Linked DNA regions of Homo sapiens: region 1 is linked to region 2. The links are contacts of gene promoters, found by promoter capture Hi-C in blood cells and fetal thymus (Javierre and others, 2016). All regions are on one chromosome and are shown on one strand. The core of a region is centred on a gene start or on the middle of the fragment in contact, and the rest is flanking DNA. Distances in the headings are between cores, read along the strand shown.

Region 1 (6,039 bases), core at 863-3,362, 1.3 Mb after region 2:
TGAGAATAAAATGGATCAAATAACCATCCAGGAAAAGAGCTTAAGAGAGGCACAGGGATTGAAATGGAAGAAGGAAATGAGGTAAGGGAGGAAATCAAGAAATGAGATGGCATTGGCACAGGCAGAGCAGCCAAATCCTGAGGGTTTGGGGGAAAAGTGTAAATTTTTGATTAGGGAAACTATTTGCTGAGTTTAGTGCTGGTCAGAGAAGTCAGCTAAAAATCTCTGGCACTTAGAACCTACCAGTTTTTAACAGGATAGGTCTGGCAACATCTTCTAGAAACATGGAAATTTTTCAAAATTTGAATGCCCAGTTGATTAGGAACCAGATTGAGAGTACCTAGCTCATTAGCAACAAGAACTGAACAGCTGACAATTTTCTGGATTTCCACTAGTGGCTTCAGTAATGAAAGGCTCTGGAACTTACTGCTGCTTTGCCATTGCTGAAGGCCTCACAAAAGGAATGGTGGTCAATGGATAGACATGAACAACCTTTGTTCACAGTTACCATGCTAAATAACTGTATTAAATGGATCATTTACACACCAATATGCTGTAATTTTGTTTCTCTAAATGTTTTTTATTTTATAATAAACATCTAAAAATATATAAATCAAAAACCAAATATAAATGCAATATTCGACATGCCTCACATTCATCCTAGTAACTTCTTGTGACAATCTTCATTGCAAAGATCTTTTTTGTTTAGGGCAAAAAACAGAAAATAACCTATCATTTGCTCCCAGACATTAATTACATAAAGTTTGAAAATAATGCCATCTAGTGGATATCTGTTTATAAAAAGCATTCTTTTCAAAATGAGCACTAAGATCCATTCATTCAACAAATATTTATTGAGGACCTACTATATGCCAGGCACTGTTCTGGGTGCTGAGAATATGGCAATGAACAACCACCACTACCAAAAGAAAAAGAAAAGCCCTTACCTCATAGGGTTTAAATTCTACTGAGGAAGACAAACAAATAAATATATATTATATATGAGGTAATAAGGCTGTAGAGGAAAATGAAGCAGGATGAGAGAATAGAATGTGACAGGTGGGGCTAGCGCTATTTTATATTTTATGTCAGGTGAACTGACAAAGCCTTATTAATAAGGTGACATTTGAGCAAAAGCTTAAAAGAGATAAGAAAATGAACCATGTGGATACCCAGTGAAACAGCACACAAGAATAGAGAATTATAACAAGTGCAAAAGCTTACATGTGGAAAGATGCCTGGTGTGTCTGAGAAACAACAAAGAGACTAAAGTATCTGGAACACAGAGAGTAAGAGGGAGAATAAAAGAAAACAAAGAGCTAGCCAAGGCCAAGATCACATAAGACCTTTAGGTCTGTGGTTTTTGTTTTTTTTTTTTTTGCTAAAGTGGTATTTTTTTTTTTTAGCTTTTATTTAGCAAAATAGGAAGCCTAGAAGCAGGAACAACATGATCTGACTTCTTTTTTTAAAAGGACTGCTCTAACTGCCCAATGGAGAAGAGGCTTGGGCAAGAATGAAAGCAAGGAGATCAGCTAGCACAGATAAGAGCTGGTAGTGACCAGTTAAGAGCTGGTAGTGACCTCACCCAGGGAAGTAACAGGTCAAGTGATGAGAAGTAACTAGACTCAAGATATAGTTCAAAAGAGGAGCTGAAAGAATTTCTTGGCCGGGCACGGTGGCTCACGCCTGCAATCCCAGCACCCTGGGAGGCCAAGGCAGGCGGATCACCTGAGGTCAGGAGTTCAAGACCAGCCTGGCCAACATGGCAAAACCCCGTCTCTACTAAAAATACAAAAATTAGCCAGGTGTGGTGACGGGCGCCTGTAATCCCAGCTACTCGGGAGGCTGAAGCAAGAGAATCGCTTGAATCTGGGAGATGGAGGTTGCAGTGAGCCAAGATCACGCCACTGCACTCAGCCTAGGCAACAGAGTGAGGCTCCGTCTCAAAAAAAAAAAGAAAGAATTTCTTGACTAATTGGGTGAGTGTCTAGAAGAATGGAATCACAACTTTATTGAAGCAGAAAAGACAAGATTCACATAAAGGTTTTGGTTATTGGTGTTATTTGCATGTTTTATTTCCTTCATGGGGGAAACAAAAATGCAGTTTTGGACATATCAGGAAATCCATGTATGTAAACCTATCCAAGTTCCATGTCATTACGCAAATGAATATGAATCTGAAGTTCATGGGAAAGCTCAGAATTCAGATATCAATAGGAGTTACAGCCTATAAAAGATTTTAAAGATCATAAGACCAGATGATATTAGGGATTGAGTACAGATATAGAAGAGAAAAGGTCCTAGGACTGAGTTCTGGGATTCCCCAAAGCCTAGAAGTTAAAATGATGAGGAGGATCCAGCAAAAGGGACTGAGAGGAGGAGGTGACCAAGAAGGTAGGTGTAAAAGAAGAGAGAATAGTTCCAAGAAGCCAAGTGGGCTGGGCATGGTGGCTCATGCCTATAATCCCAACACTTTAGGAGGCCAAGGCAGGAGGATCTCTTGAGCCCAGAAGTTTAAGACCAACCAGGGCAACATACCAAAACCTTATCTGTACTAAAAATTAAAAAATTAGCTGGGCATGGTGGCATATGCCTGTGGTCCCAGCTACTCGAGAGGCTGAGGTGAGAGGATTGCTTGAGTCTGAGGGGTCAAAGCTGCAGTGAACCATGATAGCACCACTGTACTCCAGCCTGGGTGACAGAGTTAGGTGAGAACCTGTCTAAAAAAATAAAAAGTCAAGGGAAGAGAGCTTTTCAAGAAAAAGTGAGTGATCAACTCTTTCGAATGCTGCTATTGGGTTGGATAAAATTTTTTAAATCAGTTGCATTATAGAGCTGGAAACTTAAGCCTGGATAGAGTGAACTCAAGAGAGAATGAAAGAAGGGATTTCCACTTTAGCCCACAAAGGATTAACTGGTACATGAATTGCACTAAAATAATAAGTAGAAAATCAGACAGAATACATGAAATAAGAGTTTTCAGGTACTGAACAATAGAAAGCTTGAGACTGTAATCCTTGAGAGAAAGGAAACAAACACAATGAGCTTACAATCACCTCAGTTTGCTCCAGAGGCAGTTTCCAGGCTGCAACACAAGAAAGGGAAAGTAAACAGAGCCTGGTAGACAACCTGAGTTGAGGAGATGGGGATCGGAGTTTGGGAAAGCTAAGGTGGCTAGAACTTATGGGGCAGAGTACCAGAGAGGAAGCAGGTGTGCAGAGTGAGCACTGCAAAGATCTGCAGAGAGGGCCACTTGAGAACTAATCTGCACATGTGTGAAGGGAAACTACTTGAGGTTGAGGAAAGAACCACCAGAAAGTATCAGACTGAACACTTCCTAGTGCCCACACAGGGTGAGAACAGTTCGGGTTTACACAAGGTGAAGAATAAAGAGACCTTATTATACACTGGGCATTGGGCAGAATTTTCAGAAGGATTTTACCTTAGTAGTGAAGCTAAATAAGTTTCAGAATAAAAAACCACAGTCATGTGCTGCATAACGACATTTCAGTCAATGATGCATCACTTATACAACAGTGGTCCCATAAGCTTATATAGTATATTTTTACAATACCTTTCCTTTGTTTAGATACACAAATACTTACCATTGTGTTGTAATTGCCTATTCAATACAGTAACATGCTGTACAGGTTCATAGCCTAGAAGCAATAGGCTATACCATATAGTCTAGGTGCGCAGTAGGCTATACCATCTAGGTGCATGTAAGTACACTGTAGGGTGTTCATACAACAATGAAATTGCCTAACAATGCATTTCTCAGAACATATCCCAATTGTTAAGCGAAGCATGACTGTACCTGGGATTTTTCCATAACAACATAGAAAAGCAACCTGCAAAAGGATCAAACTAATACTAAAATGTACCTTAAAACAAAACCTAACACTCTTGAAAAACATATGTTAAAATCCAGCACCCACCAACAACGTAAAATTTACAATGTTTAACATCGAATTGAAAAATTACCAGACAAGTAAAGGAAGAGGAAAAGATCCATTACCAGGAGAAAAATCAGTCAATAAAAACAGATTTAAAAAATTATATATATGATGGCATTCATGGATAAAAACCTCAAAACGGCTATTATTAATCTTCTACATTTGCTCAAGGAGTTAAATAAAGCAGGGGTTGTCAAACTGTGCACTATGGCCCATTGCCTGTTTTTGTCAATAGAGTTTTATTAGAACACAGACATATTTTTAATATTCTGTTTGACAAAATAGAAGCACTTCTACTACATTCTGAAGTACAACCATTGTCTCAAGGAAAAACATCTGTACAATTGGGTTCTCAGACTAAGAAGTCACTTTTTCCATGGGAGACCATTTTTACTTGAAAGAATGATTGATAGATAAGTTATGGTTTTTCTGACTTAAGTATTTGGTAGACGTTTTCTCAAAATGAGCAAAGTAAGCCCGACACTTCAAGAAAAACAAGTGGCAATATTTATTGCCAATGATAAAATTCAAGCTTTTAATGAAAAATCAGATTCCTAAAAAACTTACATCTGCTACCATGAGTTTGACTGCATCCCAATACTTAAATACTTTTTGTTCAGATCAGTGGAGATACTAATGAAATTTTTTTATATTGAGTAATAAAATGTGTCAACATTTAGAACTCCATAAGACAGTGAACCAATATTTTCTGAGTGATAAATGCATAATATTACAAAATCATGCATAGGTAAATATCCATTAAGAGCCTAAGACAGATGAATAGATTTTAATGTAACTGTAGAAAAAATGCAATAATATGGTTTCAGATTCTATATCACAACTAACCTCTAAGCAACTATTACTCAATTCCTGGTGTAGTATCAAAGAAGCATATCTTTAATTATCTGAAGAGACTATTAAAATATTCCTCCCTTTCCAACTATAACCAGTATAAGGCCAGATCTTCATATCTCAACCAAAACAACAGAGTGCAACAGACTGAATGCAGAAGCAGATATTAGAATCAGGCTGTCTTCTATTAAGTCAGACACTAAAGAGATTTGCAAAAACATAAAACAACGCCACTCTTTTTTCACTTTTTTTAGTCAAAAATGTATTTATTTTCCATAAAAAATACATGTAAAGTCCAGGTGCAGTGGCTCACATCTGTAGTCCCAGCTACTCAGGAGGCTGAGGCAGGAGGCTCTCTTAAGTCCGGGAGCTGGAGGTTACAGTGAACTATGATCATGTCACTGCACTCCAGCCTGGGTGACAGAGCGAGGCCCTGTCTCTTAAAAAAAAAACAAAAAACAAACAAAAAATATATGACAGTCAGTTTTGTGTCAACTTGGCTAGTCCACAGTCTCCTGTTATTCAATCAAACACTAATCTATGCATTGTTATGAAAGGATTTTGTAGATGTCATTAATGTCCATAAACAGATGACTTTAAGTACTAGAGATTATCCTACATAATCTGGGTGGGCTAATTCAATCACTTGAAAAGCCTTAACAGCAGAGCTGAGACTTCCTTTAAAAAGATGAAATTCCACCTATGGACTACAGCTTAGGCCCTTGCCTGAGAGTTCTAGCCTGCCCTTTCCAACAGCCTGCCCTATGGATTTCAGACAACTCCACATCTGCATATGCCAATTCTTTGCAATAACTCTCTTAATATATGTTCTACTGGTTCTATTTTCCTAATGGAGCCCTGTTTGGTACAATATGCTAACATGTAATGGCCAGGCACAGTGGCTCACGCCTGTAATCCCAGGACTTTGGGAGGCTGAGATGAACAGATCACTTGAGGTCAGGAGTTCGAGACCAGCCTGGCCAACATGGCGAAACCCCGTCTTTAATTTAAAAATTCAAAAATTAGCCAGGCATGGTGGCAGGCGCACTGGTGGGCACCTGTAATTGCAACTATTCGGGAGGCTGAGTAAGGAGAATCGCTTGAACCCAGGAAGTGGAGGTTATAGTGAACCAAGATCACACCACTGCACTCAAGCCCGGCGACAGTGAGACTCCATCTCAAAAACAAAAACAAACACACAAAAAAACACATACCATGTAATGGACTTACT
Region 2 (5,652 bases), core at 2,869-5,368:
TAGACTACGGTGATGTTTGCACGACTCTATGAATATACTAAAATCATTAAATTGTACACTTTGAAGAATTGTATGGTGTGTGAATTACTTCTCAATAAAGCCATTAAAAAATGATTTGGAGCTGCGTGTGGTGGTTCACACCTGTAATCCCAGCATTTTGGAAGGCCAAGGCGGGTGAGTCACTTGAACCCAGGAGTTCAAGACCAGCCTGCGCAGCATGGTGAAACTTCATCTCTATAAACAATACAAAAATTAGCCAGTGTGGTGGTACACACCTGTAGTCCCAGCTACTTGGGGGGCTGAGGCAGGAGGATCACTCGAGCCCAGGAGGTCAAGGCTGCCACTGCACTCCAGCTGAGTGACAGAGTGAGACCTCATCTCTCTTTTTTTTTTTTTTTTGAGACAGAGTCTCGCTCTGTTACTCAGGCTGGAGTGCAGTGGTGCAATTTCAGCTCACTGCAACCTCTGCCTTCTGGGTTCAAGTGATTTTCCTGCCTCAGCCTCCTGAGTAGCTGGGATTACAGGCGCACACCATCACGCCCGGCTAATTTTTGTATTTTTAGTAGAGACTGGGTTTCACCATGTTGGTCAGGCTGGTCTCAAACTCTTGACCTGGTGATCCGCCCGTCTCAACCACCCAAAGTGCTGGGATTACAGGCGTAAGCCACCGCGCCCGGCTCCCATCTCTTAAAAGAAAAAAATAATTGACAAGTTGACTGTAAAATTAATCTGGAAAAGAAACTAATAATAACCAAAAATATTGTTTTTTAAATGAGAGTACATGAGCTGATATAGTATATGACTTCCAATAAAATAATAATCATGATGGAGTATTTACCCTATTAATGTCAACATATAACATATAGTTTAATATAGGATGTTGTGGTATTGGTCCAGCAAAATAGAAAAGTATGCCATAGAACAGAAGACAGTCTAGAAACAGATCCTGTATGATAAATGAGCACATGAGGCCAGGCGAGGTGGCTCATGTCCATAATTCCAGAACTTTGGGAGGCTGATGGGGGAGAATCTCCTGAGGCCAGGAGTTTGAGACCAGCCTGAACAACATAGCAAAAACTCATCTCTATCTCTACAAATAAAAATTAAAAAGAAAAAAAAGAAATTAGTACATGGTAAGTGTGGCATTTCGGATTAATGGTTCAAGAATGGACTGACTAGGCCGGGCGCGGTGGCTCACACCTGTAATCCCAGCACTTTGGGAGGCCGAGGCAGGTGGATCACGAGGTCAGGAGATCGAGACCATCCTAGCAAACACGGTGAAACCCCATCTCTACTAAAAATACAAAAAATTAGCCAAGCGAGGTGGTGGGCGCCTGTAGTCCCAGCTACTTGGGAGGCTGAGGCAGGAGAATGGCATGAACTCGGGAGGCAGAGGTTGCAGTGAGCTGAGATCGCGCCACTGCACTCCAGCCTGGGCGACACAGCGAGACTCTGACTCAAAAAAAAAAAAAAGAATGGACTGACTGTTCGAGGTGACAGTATTTGGAAAACAACAATCACACACACACAATTCCAGAGGAATTAAAGAAAAAAAACTATTCCCACAAGAAGAACTTCAAGGAGAAAACAGAGCTTTAGGAGAAAACCCTCCTCTCTCTAAAAGTAGAGAAGGATTTTTCAACTTCAGCACAACTGACATTTTTGGCTGGTGAAATTCTTTGTTGTGGGAAGCTTTCCCGTGCGCTGTAGGATGTTTAGCAGCACCCTCGCTTTTACTCACTAGATAACCAATAGCAGCACCATCCTAGTGGAACAAACAAAAAATGTTTACAGACATTGCCAAATAACCCCGAGAGCAAAAATCTCTGCCATTTAAGAACCACTCGGATTGGGAATGATAGCCACAAAATACAAACACACACATAACAGACTGATAAATTAAAACCTAAAATTTTAAACTTTGTTTCAACAAAGATGCCATATAGTTAAAAGACAAGCAACAACTTAAAAAAGCAATAAGCAGGGAGTAAATATTATAAACACATATGAATAACAAAAGATCAAAATCCAGAACATATAAAATACTATTATAAATCAATAAGGAAAAGACAATCCAATAGAAAGAGATGTTTCTCAAAAGAGGAAATACAAATGGCTGACAATCATGAAGATGTTCAATCTCAATAGTAATCAGGGGAATGCAAATTAAAACAGCAAAGAGAAATCACTTTTCCATCCATCAGATTGGCAAAAACAAAAAAGATCGATACCATTAAATGATCAAAAGAGCATGGTGGGCCAGACACGGTGGCTCACGCCTGTAATCCCATCACTTCGGGAGGCCAAGGCAGGCGGATCACTCGAGTTTAGGAGTTTGAGACCAGCCTGGCAAATACGGTGAAACCCCGTCTCTACTAAAAATACAAAAATTAGCCAGGCGTGGTAGCGGGTGCCTGTAATACCAGCTACTCGGGAGGCTGAGGCAGGAGAATCGCTTGAACCTGGGAGGCAGAGGCTGCAGTGAGCTGAGATCACGCCACTGCACTCCAACCTGGGCAACAGAGCAAGACTCTGTCTCAAAAAAAAAAAAAAAAGAGAGAGAGAATGGAGGAAATTATTATCCACCGTGGGTGGCAGTTTGGCATTCCTAAATCCCCATACTCTCCCACCCAGCAATTCCACCTGCAGGTACCCATCCTTGAGAAATGCTCTCACATGGGCTCTCACAGAGGTGTGTGGGAAGGATGTTCTCCGCCATACTGTGTCTAACAATGAAAAACTGGAAACAATCTATGGAATCTTACATAACCATGGAATTTACAGAGCAAGTAGAAAGAATAGGTAGATCTCTAGGTACTGACAAAGAAAAAATTCCAAGACCCGTTTTTAAGCATAAAACGTCAAGTTGTGTAATGCATAAAACATGCATATTTGTAAAAGTTTAAAGCGAAATCTTACAAACATATATCTTATACGTACACATACTTGTCAAATAAATGCAAAGAAAAATACACACAAACTGACAACAGTTCTTATTTTGTGGGAAAGGGACTGGTAAAGAAGGTGGAGATGGAAAAAAACAAAATCAAAGAGGATCTGTCTTCCACACTCCCCACCCTCACCACCAAGAACATCAAGCTAAGAAAGATCTGTGTTTAAAATTTTTACATAATTTTGTTACAAGGCTTTATGCACGGACTATAACTAGAATATTTTAAAAATACATTTTTAAAACAAGCTCAACTTGACCAAATTTAATCCATCTTCCCCGCTGCGCCCCAACCCGCACTTCCTAATTCCTATGATTAACAAAACCTTTCAATTCCTTCTATCCTTGGAACAGAACTAAGAAAATAAAGTATAATTTCAATTTTGTGTTTTTGAGGAGAGGGTATATAAAGGAGTTTGAATGTTGGAATCATATCAAAAGCTTATCGGGGGATTGGTTTGTTTGTATTTTAAGGAGCAGATGTCAATTTTGTAATAAATAATGATTAAGGTTCTTAGTTTTGATCCATCCCAGGGATGTGAAAAGCCAAAGAGGTGGCTCCCGGCAAGGCCCAGAGCAGGGTGTGGTCTGGGAGGACAGGGATGGTAGCGAGGGTGGCGGCTCACACGAATCCAGGAGAGAAAACAGCAGCTGTTGCCGCGTCGAACCCGCAGCGCCCGAGGAGCTACCAGGTGCCGCGGGCGGGGCCTCCTTTTTAGCTGACTGGGACACGCAGCCTCGAAGGTCTGGTAGAGTCTCCCAGGGAGAGGGTAAGGGGGTCGAAAGGAGAGGCCCAAGGAGGGCGTGGGAGGCCGCGGGCAGGGGTGAGGCCCTCCTTGCGCACCTGGGTGCTGAACCGCCCCGCCGTGTGCGACGGGGGCGAGGGGGTCACGCCGAGGGGCGGGGAGAGGGGCAGGGCCAACTCGCTCCGGGACAGCGGGGGCCCCGCAATGTCACCCCCGTACACGGTAATATCCCCCCGCTCCACGACCCCTCTTAGTCTGCACTGGAAGCACCCCCTGCCCCGCGCACAATCCTGGTGCAAGGCTTCGCCGGCTTCTGAGCCTCACTTACCTGCTGTCTCGGACTGGGCCGCACACCTGCAGCGGGCTCACGTTAAAGACCTGGAACCTGTGCGGCCGCCTGCGCGCACCCACCCGGATTCACTAGGGCCGTAACCACTTCCGTTCCTGCGACAGGCCTGGAGGACGTAATCCCAGCTGGCGTGTGGGAACGGGCAACGCCATTTTGTACGGAAGCTACTGGGGCAGGTGATGCCTACCCAGTCTCTCTCCTCTGTTGAACAAAGGATCTGTTAAAATTGGAAGGGCTTAACGTCTTCTTCAGAAAAGTGACGCATTTGTTACTGGGATGGTATGTTTGTGTTTTGGTTTTGGCTTTGAAGGGAGAAACCTCCAGAACTCTCACAAATGTAATATGGGACATCGAATTTTCCTTCTTTAGTATCCTGCGTACTGTTTTTCTGCTAAACGATAACAGTAAATAGAAGGAAAGACACTGTATTTAAATAATGTAGTCTTCATTAGCAGTGCACATTATCCTATAGCCACTATAATAATTTTATGTACCCTCCTTTTTTTTTTTTTTTTTTTTTTTTGTAGATACTGTCTCCCTACATTGCCTAGGCTGGTCTCGAACTCCTGGGCTCAAGCGAACCTCACAACTCGGCCTCCCAAAGTGCTGGGATTACAGGCGTGAATGCCCAACCTATGCCATCTTTTATAGCGATAACCACAATACTTTTTGTTTATATATTAAATCGTTCATCCAATCAGTCTTTATTAGCAATTATATGTGAGGCAGTTAATCTGTGCTACATGCATGCTTTTCCTTTCTCATGGAATGTGTAAAACAGAAGGAGAAATGAGATGTGCATAAATAACCAATATAAGGTATAATAATAGCTACCATTTGTTGACTTTGTGCTCACCTGTTGCTAGGAACTTTGCAAAGCATTTTACTTATTTTTTCTCCTTTAATCCCCATAACAACCCTGTGAGGCAGTACTATTATTAGTGCCGTTTTACATAAAATAGAAAAAGGTTAAATAACTTCCTCAAGGTAATTCAGCAAGTAAGCACCGGAGTTAGGAATCAAACCTCATATTTCTGATTGCAGAGCATGTGGCCCCATCCTTTATACTATATTGCCTTCAATACAGGGGCAAATGTTTTAAATTCCATTGAATGAGTACCCATGGGGGAAATTTCCAGCTATTATAGAGGATTAACTCCCTGAATTTTTATCTGCTCCATCTTGAAACACTTAAAAAACAAAGGATAAAGAGGAAATGCAAATTAAAACCACAATGAGATATAGCTAAATGAAAAAGAAAATGTCAAGTATTGGCAAGATTGTGGAGCAACCACAACTCTCATATGCTCCTGAAGGGAACATAAATTGATGCAATCACTTTGTTTAACTGTTTGGCGGTATCAACTGAATCTGAATATGTGAAAAGACTTTGTTCCAACAATTTCACCCCTAGCTGGGGCACAGTGGCTCAACGTGTCATCCCAGCACTTTAGGGATTTTCACTGTGTTGCCCAGGCTGGTCTTGAACTCCTGGCCTCAAGCGATCCTCCCACCTCGGCCTCCCAAAGTGCTGGGCATCATGGTGTGCACCTGTAGTCCCAGCTACTCCAGAAGCTTAGGCAGGAGGACGTCTTGATCCCTGGAGT

The links. The method cuts DNA at HindIII sites, captures the fragments that hold promoters and counts their contacts. A CHiCAGO score of 5 or more calls a contact.
Region 1: a contact is called between a fragment that was not itself captured here and the fragment with the promoter of EXD2 in region 2, in 1 of 17 cell types (M0 macrophages). The highest score is 5.1, in M0 macrophages.

Annotation. Positions count from the first base shown.
Region 1 is chr14:67,878,670-67,884,708 of GRCh38, reverse strand. The region is part of intron 5 of RAD51B (RAD51 paralog B); the gene reads right to left. Among named protein-coding and RNA genes, the nearest start is that of RAD51B, 62 kb to the right of the region's middle. The HindIII fragment of the contact is 1,782 bases long and covers 1,222-3,003 here.
Region 2 is chr14:69,189,964-69,195,615 of GRCh38, reverse strand. It overlaps EXD2 (exonuclease 3'-5' domain containing 2), which reads right to left and starts at 4,118. Exons shown (of 10, transcript NM_001193360.2): 1 at 4,025-4,118. All of the region lies in intron 3 of GALNT16-AS1 (GALNT16 and EXD2 antisense RNA 1), which reads left to right. RefSeq lists a silencer at 3,708-3,897. The HindIII fragment of the contact is 2,229 bases long and covers 3,394-5,622 here.